Regions from separate parts of the Homo sapiens genome. Here all the other regions are linked to region 1. The links are contacts of gene promoters, found by promoter capture Hi-C in blood cells and fetal thymus (Javierre and others, 2016). All regions are on one chromosome and are shown on one strand. The core of a region is centred on a gene start or on the middle of the fragment in contact, and the rest is flanking DNA. Distances in the headings are between cores, read along the strand shown.

Evidence for each region. Contacts are between HindIII fragments. The CHiCAGO score rates a contact against its expected background, and 5 or more counts as called.
Region 2: a fragment that was not itself captured here is called in contact with the fragment with the promoter of ACMSD in region 1 in 5 of 17 cell types (M0 macrophages, total CD8 T cells, megakaryocytes and 2 more); the score reaches 7.3 in M0 macrophages.
Region 3: a fragment that was not itself captured here is called in contact with the fragment with the promoter of ACMSD in region 1 in 4 of 17 cell types (total B cells, naive CD4 T cells, monocytes and 1 more); the score reaches 6.2 in total B cells.
Region 4: a fragment that was not itself captured here is called in contact with the fragment with the promoter of ACMSD in region 1 in 5 of 17 cell types (naive CD4 T cells, naive B cells, non-activated CD4 T cells and 2 more); the score reaches 6.7 in naive CD4 T cells.
Region 5: a fragment that was not itself captured here is called in contact with the fragment with the promoter of ACMSD in region 1 in 4 of 17 cell types (naive CD8 T cells, naive B cells, fetal thymus and 1 more); the score reaches 6.5 in naive CD8 T cells.
Region 6: a fragment that was not itself captured here is called in contact with the fragment with the promoter of ACMSD in region 1 in 5 of 17 cell types (naive B cells, naive CD4 T cells, total B cells and 2 more); the score reaches 6.1 in naive B cells.
Region 7: a contact is called between a fragment that was not itself captured here and the fragment with the promoter of ACMSD in region 1, in 5 of 17 cell types (M1 macrophages, total B cells, non-activated CD4 T cells and 2 more). The highest score is 7.4, in M1 macrophages.

What each region holds. Positions count from the first base shown.
Region 1 is chr2:134,837,278-134,839,977 of GRCh38, forward strand. It overlaps ACMSD (aminocarboxymuconate semialdehyde decarboxylase), which reads left to right and starts at 1,339. Exons shown (of 10, transcript NM_138326.3): 1 at 1,339-1,462. The coding sequence starts at 1,406. The HindIII fragment of the contact is 847 bases long and covers 1,207-2,053 here.
Region 2 is chr2:134,454,524-134,457,316 of GRCh38, forward strand. It overlaps TMEM163 (transmembrane protein 163), which reads right to left. Exons shown (of 8, transcript NM_030923.5): 8 at 1,236-2,253. The coding sequence ends at 2,193. It overlaps MGAT5 (alpha-1,6-mannosylglycoprotein 6-beta-N-acetylglucosaminyltransferase), which reads left to right. Exons shown (of 16, transcript NM_002410.5): 16 at 1-98. Among named protein-coding and RNA genes, the nearest start is that of MGAT5, 200 kb to the left of the region's middle. The HindIII fragment of the contact is 470 bases long and covers 1,128-1,597 here.
Region 3 is chr2:134,527,110-134,529,809 of GRCh38, forward strand. The region is part of intron 4 of TMEM163 (transmembrane protein 163); the gene reads right to left. Among named protein-coding and RNA genes, the nearest start is that of TMEM163, 190 kb to the right of the region's middle. The HindIII fragment of the contact is 5,072 bases long and covers 1-2,700 here.
Region 4 is chr2:134,580,384-134,583,160 of GRCh38, forward strand. The region is part of intron 2 of TMEM163 (transmembrane protein 163); the gene reads right to left. Among named protein-coding and RNA genes, the nearest start is that of TMEM163, 140 kb to the right of the region's middle. The HindIII fragment of the contact is 1,347 bases long and covers 855-2,201 here.
Region 5 is chr2:134,500,793-134,503,492 of GRCh38, forward strand. It overlaps TMEM163 (transmembrane protein 163), which reads right to left. Exons shown (of 8, transcript NM_030923.5): 5 at 2,109-2,205. Among named protein-coding and RNA genes, the nearest start is that of TMEM163, 220 kb to the right of the region's middle. The HindIII fragment of the contact is 6,399 bases long and covers 1-2,700 here.
Region 6 is chr2:134,559,674-134,562,493 of GRCh38, forward strand. All of the region lies in intron 2 of TMEM163 (transmembrane protein 163), which reads right to left. Among named protein-coding and RNA genes, the nearest start is that of TMEM163, 160 kb to the right of the region's middle. RefSeq lists a silencer at 1,516-1,695. The HindIII fragment of the contact is 1,792 bases long and covers 638-2,429 here.
Region 7 is chr2:134,471,556-134,474,380 of GRCh38, forward strand. The region is part of intron 5 of TMEM163 (transmembrane protein 163); the gene reads right to left. Among named protein-coding and RNA genes, the nearest start is that of MGAT5, 220 kb to the left of the region's middle. The HindIII fragment of the contact is 7,682 bases long and covers 1-2,825 here.

The DNA of each region.
Region 1 (2,700 bases), core at 89-2,588:
TTACTCAGTATTAGCAAGTGCCTCCATGTTAGTTTAAGGCTTACTCATTCAGTTTTAGCTCACTGAACTTCTAAAAAAATGGATTTCAAGGATTTCCTTTATTTTCTTTCAAGCTGTCTGTTATAATTTATCCAGAATCTAGCTGAATTACAGAAGGAAGCTTTTTGACTACTCAATTTATGTGTTGTGGAGTCTGAGCTGAAGGCAGCAACCAAGGCAGGTTTAAGGGTTTGCCAGGGGACCTGGGGTCCCTTGAACATTTTAAGCTGTTCAGGAAGAGGAAAGGGTAAACACAGAACAATCAAGGGCTGTTTTGTTCCAGGCTCTCTTTAGAGGCATGACCATATAAGCCCCACTTTCTGCTATATTGGAAGCCCTCCCTGACTGCTCTGATAATGCTAAATGGAAATGGCTACTATCTTCTTTTCCCTACACTTTAGGATATGTATCATCTTTCTCTCAGTCAACCTTACATCGTCAGCATATAGCAGTTCTCCATAAATGTTTGTTAAATGCATGAATGAAGCTGGGTGCAGTGGCTCTCGCCTGTAATCCCAGCACTTTGGGAGGCAAAGGTGGGTGGATTGCTTGAGCCCAGGAATTCCATACCAGCCTGGGCAATATAGTGAGACCGCATCTCAAATTAAAAAACAAAAAAAAAAGGAAAAAAATGCATGAATGAATGAGTCCAAGACAAAGGCACTGGAGGAAAAAACATATATGAAGAGTGGACTCTTTCTGTGATTTAAAATGTGAAACCTCCCCATAACTTTTCAACACGTTAAATTTTCATGAACAAGACAACTGTTAAATATTATTTAAAGATATGGGAGTAACTAACTGAACAAAAAGCAAAATCATAAAAACTGGCTGCTTCTGAATAGTGCAAGGAAAAGTAAGAAAAGGTGAGTCAGGGATCTATCCTTTTTCTGTAAAAGCCCTCTGCATGGTTTTATTTTTAACTACAAACTATTTAATTATTAACTATGTACAACTAAGTTAAAATATTTAAAATGAAAAATCAGTCAATTTTTGACCTGCTGTAAGTCAAAGCATCCTGCTGTGCTTTTGACCTCATACAGTTGAGTACAGTTGTTTTTTTGTTTTTGTTTTTGTTTTTGTTTTTTTAAGTTTTGTGCCAAGAGTCCTGACTACCAAACTGTGTTGACCCAAAGCTTGATTAACAAATAAAGCTTGGTTAACCAAAGCTTGGTTAACAAATAAACAGAACTTTGAACTTTAATAAAGCAGTTCTAATGGACCTAGACTGGGTTGGGCAGGCCTACTGACTGCTGCCTGAAGGTTGCTGTAAAGGGACTAAGTAAATCAATTAACTCCACAGTTTTCACAAAGGTCTCTTGATATCAAAACTTCTTTCCTTGCATGCTTCTCTGATCCTGTGGAGATGAAAATTGACATCCATAGTCATATTCTACCAAAAGAATGGCCAGATCTAAAAAAGGTAATGGTAATTAATTTGCTGAATTATTTCTGAAACTTCTCCAGGGTTTCTCAATGCCTTTCTCTTCTTTGTGGAATTAGATGTCTAGTTTATCTGCTTTGGTGGGGGGCGAGGGGGTTAAATCATTTGGTAGTTCTGATTTTCTAGCTTTTAAAAATGACTTTTATATTTATTTTGAAATAACATTGGATTAAAGAAATAAGTGCTTTCTCAGAAACCCTTTTTTCCCTCAAATGAACCATTCTTTAAAATATCTGGACAATTTAAATAAGGCAGATTTACCTTTTCAAAAATCACATATTCAGCTGCTGGGAAGATACATGCCAACTACAGAATTTAAAGTTACAATTTTAAGTAGAAGACCATTAAAAATGGAATGTGATCGGTTTCAAGGACTTCTAAAATATATCTCCTTTCCAAAATGTTTAAAATAAGTTTTAGAAGCACCAAGAGATAGCTTTGTGAATTTTTTTAGTCTATTTTAGGACACTGCCTGAAACCTTTACTGTTTGATGTTCTTTATTCTATAAATCTTTGTCCTGAAGAACTAGGAAGTAGGTACATCAAAAAACCCGAGAATAAATGACATGAAGCTTTTGCACAGTGACATCTCCTAAGAGAGTATTCTTTGTGTTTCTCTAAAGATGGAAATTTCCTTTTGTCATTAAGAACTTTTGAATGAATATAAAAAGAGGAAGGTGAGGAACATGAAAGAAATGTAAAATTGGCTAGAGGTTTGTTCAGGCTTAATATCAGGTTTTACCCAATCTTCAGCATTCTGCCAGTACTTTCACACCACCGATAATGTTTCAACTTTTTTATCCCAAGTGAGGGAAAATGAATTAACCCAAACTTGAATTAAATGTGGTTCATTGTGCAAATAGATGAAACTATTTTCTTCTCATAGTTGTCTCATTGAAGAATGTTTATCTTAAGTATTTCTTTGTCCATTGGTATCTTAGGTAAGAGGGGTGGTAGAAACTGTGGATTGAAAAACAAAATCTTTGAAAGCCTATCCTATGCACAGCTAACGATAAAAGATAAACCTCTCAACCTGCTCTTCCTAAAAGGACTCTACATGTTTACACAGGAACATGCTGTTCTGAGTGCTGTTGTCCTCATCATAGTTTACTGAAGTGTAAACCACTTCACAATGTTAATGATTTCATGAAGGGAATGCACCAGTTACTTTGTGGGAGTGCATCTGCCTTGTTTAGAAGCTGCATGCAGTTTCTTAC
Region 2 (2,793 bases), core at 113-2,612, 380 kb before region 1:
AAATGTACTGTCCTGGCATAGAGAGCACTGCTTTGTTTTCCACTGTTGTAGAGAAAACTAGGGAGAACTTTATTTTTCAATAAACTTTTCTTGTGTGACAGGTGGAAGTGATTTTTGGGGGGGCGGGTGCATGCAGGGTCACCTCCAGAACAAAGCTGAGCTGCTGTCTAGGCGCGTCCCCAGCACACAGCTTCCCCCAGCTGTATTTCACGGTTTGCAGCACACTGTTGAAACGGCTGGTAGGAAGACAGGAAGGTATACTTAAGGAGTGGAGAGGGGAAGGTTTTACTACTGTGTATTCCTTCCCTTATATCACATCCACCACTACTCATGTTAGCGCACTCTCCTTGTGCTGCCTTCCCCTAGAAGGAAATTCAATTAGAAAGTGAACTGCTAGATTTTGAGAAAAATCTTTAAGAATGAGCTAATAAAAATAGCTCTATAAGGGGCTGAGCACCAGCGACCATTGGACCTAGAATAGATTTCTCCCTTTCAAGAGCAGCTTTTGAGCCAGGAAGCAGTGAGCCATGAGCAGCTGGTTAGGCAAATGCCCTGGAGACAGGGAAGGTTAGTCCATGCCCCACCCAACAGTTTGTCTGCAGATGACACTGGCCCTCATCTGCATGGCCTCTCTGAAGCTGGCGGGCCTCCTGGCTACGGCCCAAAATGGACACCCCACACAGTTCACAGAGCATGTTAGAACACAAGGGAAAGCCGAGTGCCTACATTTGGGCAACGCTACCAGTGTCACTTCCCCTCCCTGAGCTTCCATGATGTATATTAGACACAACGAGAAAACCAGCAGAAGAGAAACCTACAGGCTCCTACACTTCCCAATCTTTTTTTTCTTTAGTTCATGTTGTTACATATTAACATCCCTTGACGTATTCCTCAGTACTGCTGGGGAAGCAACCTGAAAGCATGGTACTGGACCAAGTTTCCATGACCTCACAGAACAAACTCCCTTCACTGGCGTGGAGGGGAGACAGGGCCCCAAAGCTGCAGCAAGGCCATGGAGCAGCTGTCCCTCGGTGCCAGGTGAGTGTGTGGCCCCTACCTGAGTGGTCAGAGAGGGCGGCCTGCACCACAGTCCTTCAGGGTCTCCACGTTCAGCACCCCTAGGCACAAGCTTCCCCTCCCAGGTCATCCTTCAGCCACAGCGGAAAACCTGCCCATGACGGGTCTCCCCATGTGTTGGTGCCGCACGGTGACGACTGCCAAAGATTGCCTTCCCATGCCATACAAAACAGGTAAAGGTCTTTATTGGTCAGCCACTACTGCCCGGGCAAGCAGTGGTGTGAGAGGTACAGAACGGTGCGGGTTGGGGAACACTCTACAGAATCTAAACCTACCGTGACATCAGCTGAGAACGTCTTGTTCCTTACAGAGGGAGCGATCCATCTCTCACAGACTGTAATGTACCCATTACCACTTAACACAGCATATAGATATATGCATATACGGATAGATTATATTTATTTATTACAAATAAACTGTAGTTTCACATCTCTCAAAAATGGACCCAGTTTTCACATGGATGTTCAGGTTCTGAATGTACAAGAAAAGGTCAATGTGCTTATTTAATTCGTCCATGCAAAGCTTATACGTGTATCACTAAGTACTTTAAAAAATAGAATGGTCTCCTTTTGAGCAAATCTGTTTAGACTTAGGATTAGTAAAACAGTATGAAATAATGAGATACACTGATAGAAATTAGGAAGTGACATACTGATGATTCTGGGTATGTAAAGGGTGAGGGGTACAATCTTCCCTTAAGACCTGCCAGGAAAGGAGAGACTTGGAACCAGGAGTGGCAGGGCCACCCAAGCTGGAGGAGGTGGGTCTGCTCAGTCCTATGCAGCGCAGGCTCAGAGCACCACCGAAGACCTTTCTGCCAAAGATCTCATCCTACCCATGAGAACCATCATACTCCAGAGACTAAAAAACGCCAGTCCCAGCTGGAGACGGGGAAGGAGGTCCATTCCTATGGGCATTGTCCCAACATGTTTGATGGGGGCGGCAGGTGATGGGGGCAAGGTAGATCCACCTGGCTGGGCAGACCTTGTCTTGTAATGACAAACCATGTGAAAGAAAACTTCCAAAAAGAAACCAGATGTTCAGTTAAATATTGGCACCCTTTGCCTATGTGGAAACTCCTCATCTCGATGGTCTCATGCGGATGCTGGCCCCCTTCACTCAAACATCTCGTAGTGACGTGTCTGCCTCACCCTCGGCACCATGTCGATGAGGAGTCTGCAAAGACGAAGACAGACAAGGTCACCTCCATGGCATGGGGCTGAAGAGCTTGGGGAAGCGTATTTTCATTTTTTTTTTCCTGAGATAATTCACATACCATAAAATTCACCCTATGTGGCTCGGTGGTTTTTAGTATATTCATCCATTTGTGTTATCTCAGAAACCCCATGTCCACTGTACCATTCACTCCCCATCCTCCCCACGCCTGACGAGAAGTACCCTCCTTCTGGCCTCTATGGATTTGCCTATTGATATTTTATATAAACAAAATCACATAACGTGGCCTTTTGTGACTTCCTTCATAATATTTGAGGTCCATCTATGTTGGAGCGAGTATTAGCACTTCATTCCTTTTTGGGGGCTGAATAAGTGTCCACTGCACAGATCTACCACATTTATCCATTCATCTGTTAATGGACAATTGTGTTGCTTCTGCGTTTTGCCTATTGTGAATAACTCTGCTGTGAATTTCACAGACAACTTTCAGTGTGGAGGTTTGTTTCCATCCTCCCGCAGTGTATACCAAGGACTGGAAGT
Region 3 (2,700 bases), core at 35-2,534, 310 kb before region 1:
TGATAACAGACTATTTGTCAGTCATGACTATTAGCTATAACTAGGATAAAATCTCATCTTCTTGGTGATTATATCATGTCTCTTCCATCTCCTTTCACTTGCCCTGACCCCTCTGCAAATCTATACAGTGTACATGCTTACATACGTGTATGCATCTATACATACATGCATATGTGTTTATGTGCATGCTTGTGTGTATATACACTTACTATAGAGAGAGAGAGGAAGGAAGGGAGGAAGGGGAGGAAACCTTAGAAAGTATATTATAAAGAAATTTTAGAAGTTTAAGAAAAAGAAAAACCTTCAGAAAAAAATACAACAAATCCTTAACATGTGCAAAAGACACTTGCCAAAAAAAACAGCCCCAGATCCCCAAATCCCGCTGCTATCGCTGAGGGTTGAGGAGTGAAGGGGAAGAGCAGCTGTGGCAGGAAATTGAAGGTCTAAGGGCTTTACAATTTCCAGAAAAGTATGTGACAGTGAGCCCAACACCACAGGGCTCTCCACTTCCCGCTCTCCCGGGATCCTGAGCAAGGCTATAGGAATGACTTGTCCTAGCCTTGGGAATCATTCCGGTCCTGGCTGAAACCACAAACACGGGCTGGGAAAATGACAGGATTGAGATGGGATGCCCATAAATAAATCACTGTAACAGCATGGAAAGCCCTCTGATGAGGTGATATTTAAGAGGAACATACGAAAATAATTAGCCAAAGACACAATCAAAAGAGTAGCGCCAACATGTATGTTAGATATAGGTCCAAAATGGGCTAAGTCTTGGAAAAAATATTTCCAAATGCCATTCAGAACAAAATTCTCAGGTTAACTACAACCCAAGAAGAATGGTCAATGTTTACATGAGACAAAAGACAGAATAGCACCACTTCTGGCCTGTCAACTGGGCAAGGAACAGAAAATAAAACTAATTAAGAGGACACAGAAGTCCAACAAGACAGAACGAAAAAGAAACACCTGGTCCTTCTAACACCATCCAGATCCTAAATCACATTATCCCAAATGGTGAAAGATCATTCCATGTTGTTATGGAAAAACTCCCAGTAGCCTTTTAAAAAATCAGGGCAAACAGGAAACTATTCTAGAAGTTGGGAAATGGGTCTTGGTGTTTGTAAGCAGATCTTAGAAATTCAAGACCGATGAAAGGCTTACTTCAATTATCAGATGGCTTACTTAACAGATTTAGTCTAACAATTCCAAAATGAAAAACATTTTGTTCAGCTCACCTAGGTTCACCAGGAATAAATCTAACTGGCCTAACTCCATTTCCTTTAGAGATGGCTTCCCTAACCTAGTAAACCAGGAGAATGCCTCAGATGATACATTTTGATTTTAACAAGGCATCTGATAAGAGTTTCTTATAACATTGTTATGAATGAGATAGAAAAGTTAGGGTATGGTGAGGTGAACTAAACTCTGGTTAGACAAACATTCTGGAAAATCTTGATCAGCCAAACAATTTGGAGTAACATCTCTAGGGTCAATTCTTAAGCCATTTGAAAAGTGAAAAAAAGTTGTAATGATACCACTTTGCCTCTTCAATTGTCCATTTTTAAAAATGAAAACAGCCAGTGCTGGTTGGAATACAAAGTGTCAATCTCAGTGGACAATTTAGTAATATGTCTCACACTTCTGATTAGAAATTGCATTTAAAGAAATATTCTTCCTAAGGAAATAATCAGACACAAGATTGTATAAAGCCCTTCACTGCTATGTTATAATAGGAGAAGAAAAACCATACTTGGGTATTTAAGGTGAATGGTTAATAACGGTGCATCAATAAGATGCAACATTGACACTTAAAAGGAAGTACATCAAGATTTTCAATAACAAAGAAATGCTCACTTTAGAAAGTGGGGGGAAAAGCAGGATGCACAACAGAACACGTACCATTAGCTCAGCTTTATAAAAATGTGTACCAACCCGGCCAGATGCTATGGCTCACACCTGTAATCCCAGCATTTGGGAAGCCAAGGCCAGTGGATTATTTGAGGCCAGGAGTTCAAGACCAGCCTGGCCAACATGGTGAAACCCCGTCTCTACTAAAAATAAAAAAATTAGCTGCGCCTGGTGGTGCATGTCTGTAATCCCAGCTACTCAGGAGGCTGAGACAGGAGGATCACTTGCGCCCATGAGGCAGAGGTTGCAGTGAGCTGAGATCACGCCACTATACTCCAGCCTGGGTGACAGAGTCTCGCTCTGTCTCAAAAACAAAAACAAAATGTATATAAACCTGCGCACATGCATAAAAGAAATGGAAAGAAAAAAATCTCCAAAAGCTAACCATTCTCTGGGTGGTAGGATGAGGGGTGACTCTTCATACATTAAATTGTCCAGTTTTTGGTCAGGCATGGTGGCTCACATCTGTAATTCAGCACTTTGGGGGGTCAAGGCAGGTGGAATGATCTGAGGTCAGGAGTTCAAGGCCAGCCTGGCCAACATGGAGAAACCCCTATCTCTACAAAAAAAAGTACAAAAATTGGCCGGGCATGGTGGTACACACCTGTAGTCCCAGCTACTTGGGAGGCTGAGGCAAGAGAATCACTTGAACCCAGGAGGCAGAGGCTGCAGTGAGCCAAGATCTCCCCGGCGATCACACTATTGTACTCTAGCCTAGGCGACACAGCAAGACCCTACCTCAAAAAAAAAAATTGTCCAGTTTTTAAATAATGAGTACATACTAAT
Region 4 (2,777 bases), core at 278-2,777, 260 kb before region 1:
CCCAATTAAGCAGGCTGATGGAACATACTATGTGGTGCTATAAAGTGTTCCTTTTGCAAAAGAAGTGTAAAATAAAATCCTTGTTCAAGAGCTCACTGGCTTCCCCACATACTATATACTATAGTAAGTGTATACGGAATAAAATTCATTCATTTATTGTGCAAAGGATGTCAGTCTTTGAGACAACAAGAAATTAATCTGGAATTAGCCCAAGATCAATGCAAAAATAAGTCAAACAACCCTAGAGGCCGGGCGCAGTGGCTGCCACCTGGAATCCCAGCACTTTGGGAGGCCGAGCCAGGTGGATCACTTGAGGTCAGCAGTTCAAGATCAGCCTGGCCAACGTGGTGAAACCCCATCTGTACCAAAAAATACAAAAATTAGCCGAGAGTGATGGTGCATGTCTGTAATCCCATGTACTCAGGGGGCTGAGGCAGGAGAATCGCTTGAACCCCAGAGGTGGAGGTTGCAGTGAGCCAAGATGGCTCCACTGCACTCCAGCCTGGGTGACAGAGCGAGACTCTGCCTCAAAAAAAACCAGCCCTAGGACAGGAGCAAGATGTGGATGGTGGTTCTGGGTTTGACTAACCAATCTCTCCAGGCGGGGCTTCATGAGATAACCTCTGGGGCTCAATTCAGTCCCTGGACCCTCTAATGAAGACCTAAACTTCCTGACCATCACAGACGCAGGTGCCAAGAACAACAGAATCAGGGCAGGAGGGCACTGAAGGGAGAGTCACAGACACATGGGGCAAATCCGACGGAAAAGGATTTGTAGTCCAATATATACATTTGCTTCCTGAGGCACCATTTCTGGTTAACCTTGATCTTCCTTTTTTTTCTTTTTTAAACCAAGCTTCTATCACCCAAAGTAGCTACTTGATGAATAACTCAACAAGCTCCTTTCCCTTAAAAGGCCAACTAATTTTTTTTTAATTAACTAGAATATACATAACACAGAAACAATTTTCACATCTTCTTCATAAGTGTCTACATGCAAATAGCCTTAGCAACACATCATGCTTATCTCTTTCAGAACATATCTAAAATTCTCCACTTTACTTTGGTGAGAGAAATTGAATGTCAACATTTATGTTCATTCCAGAACTGGGTCCACTTCCTTCCAAATGTAAAATAGCAGCTGCCACCCCACTCTGGCTGCATTGCTGCACTGCCCTTCCCCCAAACAAACCACCAGCAATTCCCCCACTTACAGGAGCTGGGAACATTCTTCATGCTCTTTATGGGGGCGGGGGGGAGATGAATTTTATGAGGTTGATGAGAAAACAAGTTCAAAAGTCAAGTCAGCTCATTTTGAGGGGAGGATCTCCTACCTTTAGTTTCCCCATACTTTCCCCTTGCCCATGTCAGCATATGCATATACACATGTACAATAATGATACCAGAGTGACCAAAGAACACAACTTTACAAGAAGCAGCAGAACCAAAAAGGCAACTACCCTTCCATCTCCCTCCTGCCCTTGAACCACTGATTCTCCATGTTAAATATTCCATCGTTCAAAATATGGCTACACATATTGAAGACTTTGTCCTTCCTAACGGTGTCATAAAGCTGAAGGGTTTCCTTGTCACCATGAGTGCGCATAGAAGTATCAACAGCACTGCAACCAGCACTGCTTGGGTTCACACACACGGCAGAGAACCATGAGAGAGCACAAGGTATGCAAGAGTTTAAAACTTTCAGTTTCCTAGAAACCACAGTCATGTCAAAAAGGGAAGACAAGAAGATCGCCATGTGCTATGGGAAGATGCCTAATTAGAAAGGAACTAAAAGAGAGGACAAAGGCTGGGAAGGGGAGTAAGTTTTGCAAAATTGTTTTCTCATCAACTTCAAAAAAGGCAACCCAAATCCCCCAAAGAGCATAAGGAATGTTCCCAGCTCCTGTAGGTGGGGGAAGGTCAGTATGGTAGGTGCACCTAATAGCAATAACTTAAGAAATGACAGCTGCCATGCGGGGGCCGCTGCTAAGTGCAAGTGCTCTACAAACCGCACGCTTTTTGCAAGAGGTTGCAGTTCTCCTGTCCAGTCTGCCACCTTTGGACTGTTCCTGCATGTAAGTTCTCACAAATAAAACCCCATATCTCATTTGCTGGCTCTGGGTCTCTTCTCTGGACTCTTGAACCTAGTGCCGTCCCTGTTGAAGTTAACTGGAGTCTGACAAGACAAAAATTCACGTCAAAGCTTCACTCAGACTAATCAGAAACCCAAGCCCAAGCTGGTGCATGGTGGTGCTAGGTCCTGCCATGTGATTCTCATGACTTGCATACAGCCACTCAGTCATCATAAGTGCTGTCTCTGAAACAAGGAAGAAAAAAATAATCATGTCTCAAGCTGATGCTTTAGTTTTGGCAACAGTGAGTCACTGGCAGGTGAGGAAGAGGAAGTGGTGATATCTCATGTGGGGGCTGGGGGTCGCCTCCATCCTGAGAGGAGGAAAGGTAGGGGGCAGAAAAATGGCTTCTGGGTCCAAGGGGCCTAAATTCCCTTCTACCTGCAAAAGTAGAGAAGAATCCACTGGCTTGAACACACTCCACATATATGCTAAGAGATCTCTACTCTGGGACCATTCTTCCTATAAAAATGGCACTAAAACATATTTCTCTATTTTAACAGGCATCTCTGTGCAATGATTATTTGGATTTTAAAAAAATATGAGAAGAACTTCATTTCTGCTTAGTCCTGTGGACAGAGAACGGTGGAGCTTCACCAGAAAGCTCCTCTCAGCACAGCAGTCACAGCACCAACTTTGGAATCC
Region 5 (2,700 bases), core at 174-2,673, 340 kb before region 1:
AAGTAAAACAGAGGATTCCAGAGACTGGGGAGGGGAGGGGGAAGGGAGGGACTTGTTAAAGGATACAAAATTACAGCTAGATAGGAGGAATAAGTTCTAGTGTTCTAAACAATTATAGGATGACTAGAGTGAACAATAATATACTATATAGGTTATAATTGTATAATATATCACATATTATATAGCTAGGAGAGGGATACTGAATGTTCCCAACACAGAAATAATAAATGTTTGAGATAATGGATATGGTAATTCACTAATTACCCTAATCTGGTCACTATACATGATATGTATCAAAACATCACTATGTACCCCATAAATTATCATTATTGTCAATTTAAAAAAATAAGTAAATTAAATGTTTACAATCCCATAGCACAATTCATCAAAGGTACAGATGGTATGGGTTCTGTAAGGACAGGCGCAACCATGGAATCTTCAGCTTCTCTGAACCCCAGGTGAGGCTGGGTGTTGGATATGTACACCTTGAGGGGGAATGTAAGTCGGTGAGCTGCTTCTCTTAAGAGTATTTGCACTGTGGGATAATAACAGATTGCTCCCAGTTAAAAGTGGTTCAGCTATCGGGAGAATAACAAGGAGAGCCATTACAAGGGCCGTGAGCACAGCCATCCATCCCCTATCACATGAGCCCTGCTGGAAATTAATTTTTAATGCCAAATAAATGAATGTGTCAACTGGCATAGTGCAGAAAATGCCCACCAACAAACATTTCTCAGAGTGGAGGCATATTTGCAAGGCCTATAAAACGTAGACGTTACCTGACTGACATCTAACATGTATAATCACACTTGGTGCCCTCATATCTTACCTAAGGTTCAGATTCTGACTGAATGAAATGCAGGCTAGCAAGTCTGATGGAGGAGGAGGACGCGAGAGTCCCATATGCCAGGCAACCAGGGAGATTGGTTAAGTAGGAGATGAAGAGCACAGGACTGTAATAAATGGTAATATTTGTTCGGGCTATCTCTGCTTCTGAAAAAGACTAAATACCACAAATAGGTACATTCCTATCCCCATATCCATTTTTCCTCCCTGTCACTGAGATGTTAGAGAGTAAGCGCTGGCCAACTGTGGTGATAAATAACAGTTAAAATCCTGGTGGATCATTAAAGGGATGGCACTAATCATTTACAAGGGAGTGAGGAAAACAACTTAAAGCAGCCACTTTCATGCCTCTACTAAATGCAGGAGAATGTCTCACCTCATTTTCATCTTCCCTATAAAAACACACATATACACACAAACACACATACATGCAATACATCACCCAACAAGGATTAATATCTTTTTTCAAAAGTAAAATTAAAGGTCTAATCATTTTGGTCTTATATCAGATGGTGCATGTAGCCAAGCTCACATCAAATCACATCCTAAGAGGAGACCAGATTTTGCATTCAAATTTCCATTGCAACTTGTACACAGGGAATTATTGTAATGGCAGCATCTTCATCTCCTGGTAACCACATCAGCTGCCTGTCACGAAGACTGCATGACAGGAGGCTGTAAAAATATTTCTTTTCTCAGCACTCATAAGGGGAGGGAGGGAAAAAGAATCAGAGTGCCGGTAATGACTCTCACCCAGAGGACAAAGCAGTCAAAGACACATTTTAATATGAATTTGTGTCCTCCAGTTTCAATATCCCAGTGTCAATTGTGCCAGAAAACCTAACATGAATAGATTTATGACTGAATTGAGGTGCAAAGGAAAAAAATAATTCTTAATACAACGATCATTGAATGAACACAGAACAACAGATGCAAACAACACAGATTGGATCACTCTGCTTCACAAAAATAACCCAATTTCTCTTTACACACACAAAAAGTCTTGCTTTAAAAATAGTGAAAATAGCTAAGGAAAGGCACACAGAACCCAGTCCTAGCTCACCTATCTGGAGTCTCTTCACCTTGCCCAGTGTTTCTCTCCACCAGGTCATTTGCATCCCTGCAACAAGTTCTTCTGACCCCCAGAATGTTGTCTGTTCCCTCTCAACATGCCCGACTCCACCCGGGAACCCTGCGATAAGAGGCAGCCCAGGGGGCCAGCGCTGGCAGGAAGGATTGTTAAGGAAGAAGAAGGACCTTACCACTTCTGGGAGCAGCCTAGTTGAGAGGTCATGGATGGCTTTGACCACTATACATATGGATGACAGAAGGAATATCACCCCCAAGATGACACAGGCTCTGCAAAAAACAAAACATTGAGAATCTTAACTGGGAGAACTCACACTGCTGAAGAGTCCACACAATTGACAGTGACAAAGACACAATCTGGGAATGAACTCAATTGTAATTTGCCACACCCCCAGGGTGACCACCCACAGTCCATGGATTGACACTAAGTCACCTCTAGGAGAATACAGTTCAGAGTTTGATCACCAAAGTCAACCACAGGGAAAAGAGATCACCATCCTACAGAAGCTCACAGCATACCATGAATGCTGTCATGGAAGGGTCTTCAAGGCCATGAAATCTTTCTCCCTTGCCTGGCAAATGTGATGTTTCATTCCTGCTCAAACGGGAAGGCACATGGTTTAACAGCAGAATGGAGGCTCTGGCATGAGACATGCCAAGCTCTACCATTTACTTAACTTGTGTGATCTTGATTATTGTCTCTCTTAGCCTTGATTTCCTCATCTTTCAAATGGGAATATATTCCCTACCTAAAAAGGAAATGAG
Region 6 (2,820 bases), core at 284-2,783, 280 kb before region 1:
CAAAAAGGGACTATACAACCCCGCCCCTAATCCCACACCCACAATAACCTATAAAACCCACAAAAATGGGCTTGAAGAGGTTAGAAAATATTGCCCTCGAGCTGCTGCTATGGGGGTAGGGAGTGCCTTTTGCTAGTGTTCTGGGCCACTTTGCAATGAAAGGTCACTTGCACTCCAATTTCTAACAGGAAGCAGCGACTGTCATTCATCCCTCCATGCCCCTGGTACTTGTACACATTGGCCTCCCTGGAAAGGCCATGGTCCTTAGGATGGAGGAAGCCTCTGTTCTCTGATCTCCTCTTCTGCGGCCCACACCTGCTCACTGCACTCCAGCCACATGGGGCTCCTCGCTGACCTCCCCACAGCCAGGCCACGGCTCTTCATTCTGCCAGAAACAAGCTTACTCCAGGGATCAGCCTGGCCTGCTCCCTCCCCTCCTTCAGGTTAGGGCTGTCCTGGCCACCGCATTTAACGATGAAACCTGCCCTCGTTCCCAATCTGAGCTCTCTGTCACCCACCTCTAAATTTTCTTTATCTGAAGTACATCTCATCTACCACATTATCTTATGTACTTATGTAGGTTTCATCTGCCCCACCCTACTCCCACCTATTAGAATATATACACCACAAAGGCAAAAGCTTTGAATGTTTGTTCCCTGATGTATCCCGAATGCCAAGATCAGTGCCTAAACACATAGAACATGGAAAACTTTCAGATGGATTCATTAACACCTTCCCCTTAGCTCCAGCATGCAGCAAACAGAGCCTTCAGGGAGAAGGCAGACAGGACCAAGGGCTCAAAACACCGGGAGGCCCAGCCGTGCTACCCAGAAGCCCTTCCCTGAGCAAATGAAGCCGCAGCTGGCACTTTCTGGGGCACAATGGAGAAACCAGCCTCTAAATGGACCACTGCTTTAGGGACAGCTTGAAGCATTTGCAAATGGCAAAGATCTAGGATTAAGGAAAGAGTAAGGATAGCCCCGGACCCAGAAAGCCAAGAGCCAACACAGAATAGTATAACAGGAAAAAAATCCAAATAAAAACAACCCAAGGAAAGTCTCTAGCATGGACCAGGGCACCCTTGTTCCTGCTACCACACACCACCAGACTAGCTCTGTTTCAGTTTGCGTAACATGAAATGCACATGACCCCCGTTCCAAAGCAGGGATCGGCATTCCTGGGACATGGGCAGGATGCCTGCCACTCAACAGGGAGAGACCTGGGTTTCAAGAAGCTCTCAGAGGTCTCACACACAGGAGTCACCAGCTCAGAGACAAAAAGACAAAGACCCCAGCTTTTAATGACAAAACTTCCTCAACACCACAGCACACTTTCACTGTGCTGCTTCTTCAGTCTGGGAATAAGCAGGAGGAACATCCCCTGAAGGCACAGTTAACCAACTTTTATGAGCATTTATGGGCCGTCTCCGCCGTCTCCGATGGCGTATACAGCCCCTCAACTTGTTAGCACATTTGCTACACAGACCTCACACGCCAGAGCTAAAAGTAGCAGCAAAGTTCTTTTATTATTATTATTTTTGTTGTTGTTGAGACGGAGTCTCGCTCTGTCGCCCAGGCTGGAGCGCAGTGACGCCATCTTGGCTCACTGCAAGCTCCGCCTTCTGGGTTCACGCCATTCTCCAGCCTCAGCCTCCCGAGTAGCTGGGACTACAGGCACCCACCACCACACCCGGCTAATTTTTTTGTATTTTTTTTTAGTGGAGACAGGGTTTCACCGTGTTAGCCAGAATGGTCTCGATCTACTGACCTCGTGATCCGAGGTCCAGCCTCAGCCTCCCGAGTAGCTGGGACTACAGGCACCCACCACCACGCCCGGCTAATTTTTTTTGTATTTTTTAGTGGAGACAGGGTTTCACCGTGTTAGCCAGGATGGTCTCGATCTCCTGACCTCGCGATCCGCCTGACTTGGCCTCCCAAAGTGAGCAGCAAGGTTCTTGCTGAATGTCACTCACACTTTCCTAACACTTGCTCTTACACCTCCTTGTGCCAGGGTTGCCCACAATGCCAGCAGAGCTATCAAGTAAGCCTGTGGGAGGCAGGCCTGGTCAGGTGTCCTCAGACCACACTCAATTCATGTCCTGCAACCCACACTGCCAGACTAACATGAGTAGCCACGCTCAACTAATCAGTCTTTCATTCAACCAACAAGTGCTTACTGAGCACCTACTATGTGTCCCACACTATTCTGCTGAGCTGGGGATACAGCAGTTGCTTGCCCAACAATTTGATAAAACATACATTTTAAAGCCTTATGTTTCCCTTAATCATAGAATGCAGCTCCTTTAGCCCAGTAAGTAAAGCATTCATTAGATAAACAGAGATGGGGATAAAATTTATAGAACAGAACTTTCGCATTTTATCTTCTCTTGTCTTCTATGTTAAATACCTGTGAGGTTGCTGGGAGTTTGAAGCTTGTTTCTAGGTAAACTCATTTTCAGTCCATTCTTTTTACTTTGGCTTGGTGTCTTTTTGGGCCCCAAAGCTCCCTGCCCCTAGCTGCCTTTCTTTTATAAAACACAGAAATGCTCCTTGCCTTCTCCCAAGCAGCACACAAAAGCGTGAAGTCAAGGGTTGTATCATATTTGTCTCTATCCTCAGGGTCTGTGTGCTCAAGCACAAGTGCATTGTCAGTGCTCAAAAAATCCTTGTTAAACTGAACAAGACTGGAAGAATCTCTAACCCCCAATTATAATTTCTGGCTTTTATTTAATGTGTGACAGTCAATTCAGACCAGAACCAAAAGCTAACACTACGGGCAAGAAGAGCTAGCAAAGGCATGGATATTGTCACCCAAGGTCAT
Region 7 (2,825 bases), core at 151-2,650, 370 kb before region 1:
CTACGACATTTGTCTTTGGCACCCCAAGCTAAGACAGTCTCTAAGTTTAATAAAAGGAAGTTTCTGAGAAGATTCCTTTCAGAGAGTCAGGAAGCCACAGCAGACATGGAGACATGGCTGATGATGAGAAACCATAACACGTGTAGGCTGTTCCACCACTGACTCCTCTCAAGGTGCGGCCGCACCTACCATGCCACTGAATTCTCAGCACTGTCAGAGTGGGCGTCTGACAGATGCATAAACAGTTGGAGAGAGGCTAAATGACTTTCCCAGGGTCACTCTGCAGTGGCAGGACCTGGAATTGTTCCCAGCTGTAAACTCTACCAGGTTGCCTCATCTAAGGCCTTATCATCATCTCTCATGTCCCTCAACAGTGGACTCCGTGAAAACAGCAACAGCGATTTCCTTGCTGGGCATTCAGTTCCTGCTGTTACCAGCACTGTGTCTCTATAATTTCTCACAGTTGAATCTTCACTGATTGATGGAAGATTATGACAAAAAGGTTTAAGGAAATTAGCCACTCATTCAAAGCCAAGTATAAATGTACATTAAAGGTAAACTCCACATAAATTTTGTCCATGCTGGCAAGCTCCTTCAACATCTTGTAGTAGCAAAGCCATAAAAGATTGATATACTTGACTAGAGAGAAGTTAAGACATATTCAGGGGAAAGATCAAATACAAACTAGGAAAAGGGTTATCACAAAGGGTTAATCTCCTTACTATAGAAAGGGCTCATGGAAATCTAGAGGAAAAAGACCAACAAAGAGAAAATGGACAAAGATATATGTGAGAGACAGTTAAAAATAACATAAATTTTAAACATATGAAAAAGGCTCAAATGCTCATAAAAGAAATGAAAGCCAAAACTATAGTAAGATCCTTTTTATCTAACCAAAAATATTACAAGGCTATGAGAAAACAGTCTCTCATACAATTCTGGTGGCAGTGCAAAATGGTCCAACCTGTACAGAGAACAATTTGACAATTTCTCTGAAAAGTACACATCTACCCTTTGAGCAAGCCACCCACTTATGTGAATTTATCTTACTGCTATACCTGTACATGTATGCAAATGACGGCACATATGGGCCATTCATTACAGCAATGAAAACACTTTTACATAACTGATAGAACAAACTAACAGAAAGTCAGTAAACAGAAGACTTCAACAACATGATCAACCAGCTTTGCCTGACATTTACGGAACATCTACCCTACAAAGGCAGGACACACATTCTTTTTAAATGTAATATTAATGTAGATCACATTCTATGCCATTAAAAAGATGTCAACCAATTAAAAAACTGAATTATACAAGGCATATTCTCTGACAATGGGATTAAACTAGAAATCAGTAACAGGATGATATCTAGAATATTCTAGTATTTGGAAACTAAACAATAAAACAACCCACTTCTTAAAAACTCATGAATCAAAGAATAAGTCACCAGGGAAATTACAATATATTTTGAAGTGAAATAAAGTAGAACAACAGTATACTGAAATTAGTGGTATGCAGCAAAAGCAGAGCTAAGAGGAAAATTTATAGTAAATAATGTACTTAAAAATGTTTAAAAGGCCTAATATCAATGATCTGAGCTTTGCCTTTAAGAAAAAATTAAAAGAAAATCAAATTAATCCCAAAGTAAGGAGAAGGAAAGAAATAATAAACTTATGAGCAGAAATCAATGAGACAGACCAGGTGCGGTGGCTCACAACTGTAATCCCAGGACTTTGGGAGTCCGAGGCAGGTGGATCACTTGAGGTCAGGAGTTCGAGACCAGCCTGACCAACATGGGGAAACCCTGTCTCTACTAAAAATACAAAATTAGCTGGGTGTGGTGCCTCACACCTGTAATCCCAGCTACATGAGAGGCTGAGGCAGGAGAATCACTTGAACCAGGGAGGCAGAGGTTGCAGTGACCCAAGATCACACCATTGCACTCTAGCCTGTGCAACAAGAGTGAAACTCTGTCTCAAAAAAAAAAAAAAGAAAAAGAAACCAATGAGACAGAAAATGAATAAACAGTAGAGAAGAATCAATAAAACCAAAGACCTTGATAAAGATCAGTAATGTAGGATAAACCTCCAGGACTCATCTAGAAGAAAGAGGACACATGTTACCAATATCAGGAATGAGAGAAGGTACATCACTACAGATCCAACAGGATCTATTAAGAAGATAACAAGGAGATATAACCAACTTGATGCCAATAAATTTGACAACTTAGAAGAAATAGACAAATCAAACGTCATCCAAGAAGTAGATAACCTGAAGAACCCTGTATCAACCGAAGACCTTGAAACTGTAGTGAAAATCCTTCTCACAAAACTTCAGGCCCCAATGCTTTTACTGGCAAATCTGCCAAACATTTAATCATTTAAAGGAGAAATAACCAATTCTAAAACATCTCTTTCAGAAAAAAAAAGATAAAGAAGAAACACTTCCCAATTTATTTCTGAGGCCAGCATTACCATGACACTAAAAGCAGAAGCATCACAAGAAAACTACAGACCAATAGCTCTCATGAATCAGACTTAAAAGTCCTCAACAAAGTATCAGCAACACAAATTCAGCAATATATAAAAAGGATAATACAACATGACCAAACGGGGTTTATCCTGGGGAACCAATATTGATTAAACATTCAAATATCAATCAAAGCAATTTCCCATATTGACAGAACAAAAAGAAAGCCCATATAATCATCTCAATAGATGCAGAAAAAGCATTTGATGTGTCAAATGTGTCACTACCCACTCATGGAGAAGGGAAGGAGAAACAGAGGAAGCCAAAGACTTCTCAGCACTCTAGGAATGGAA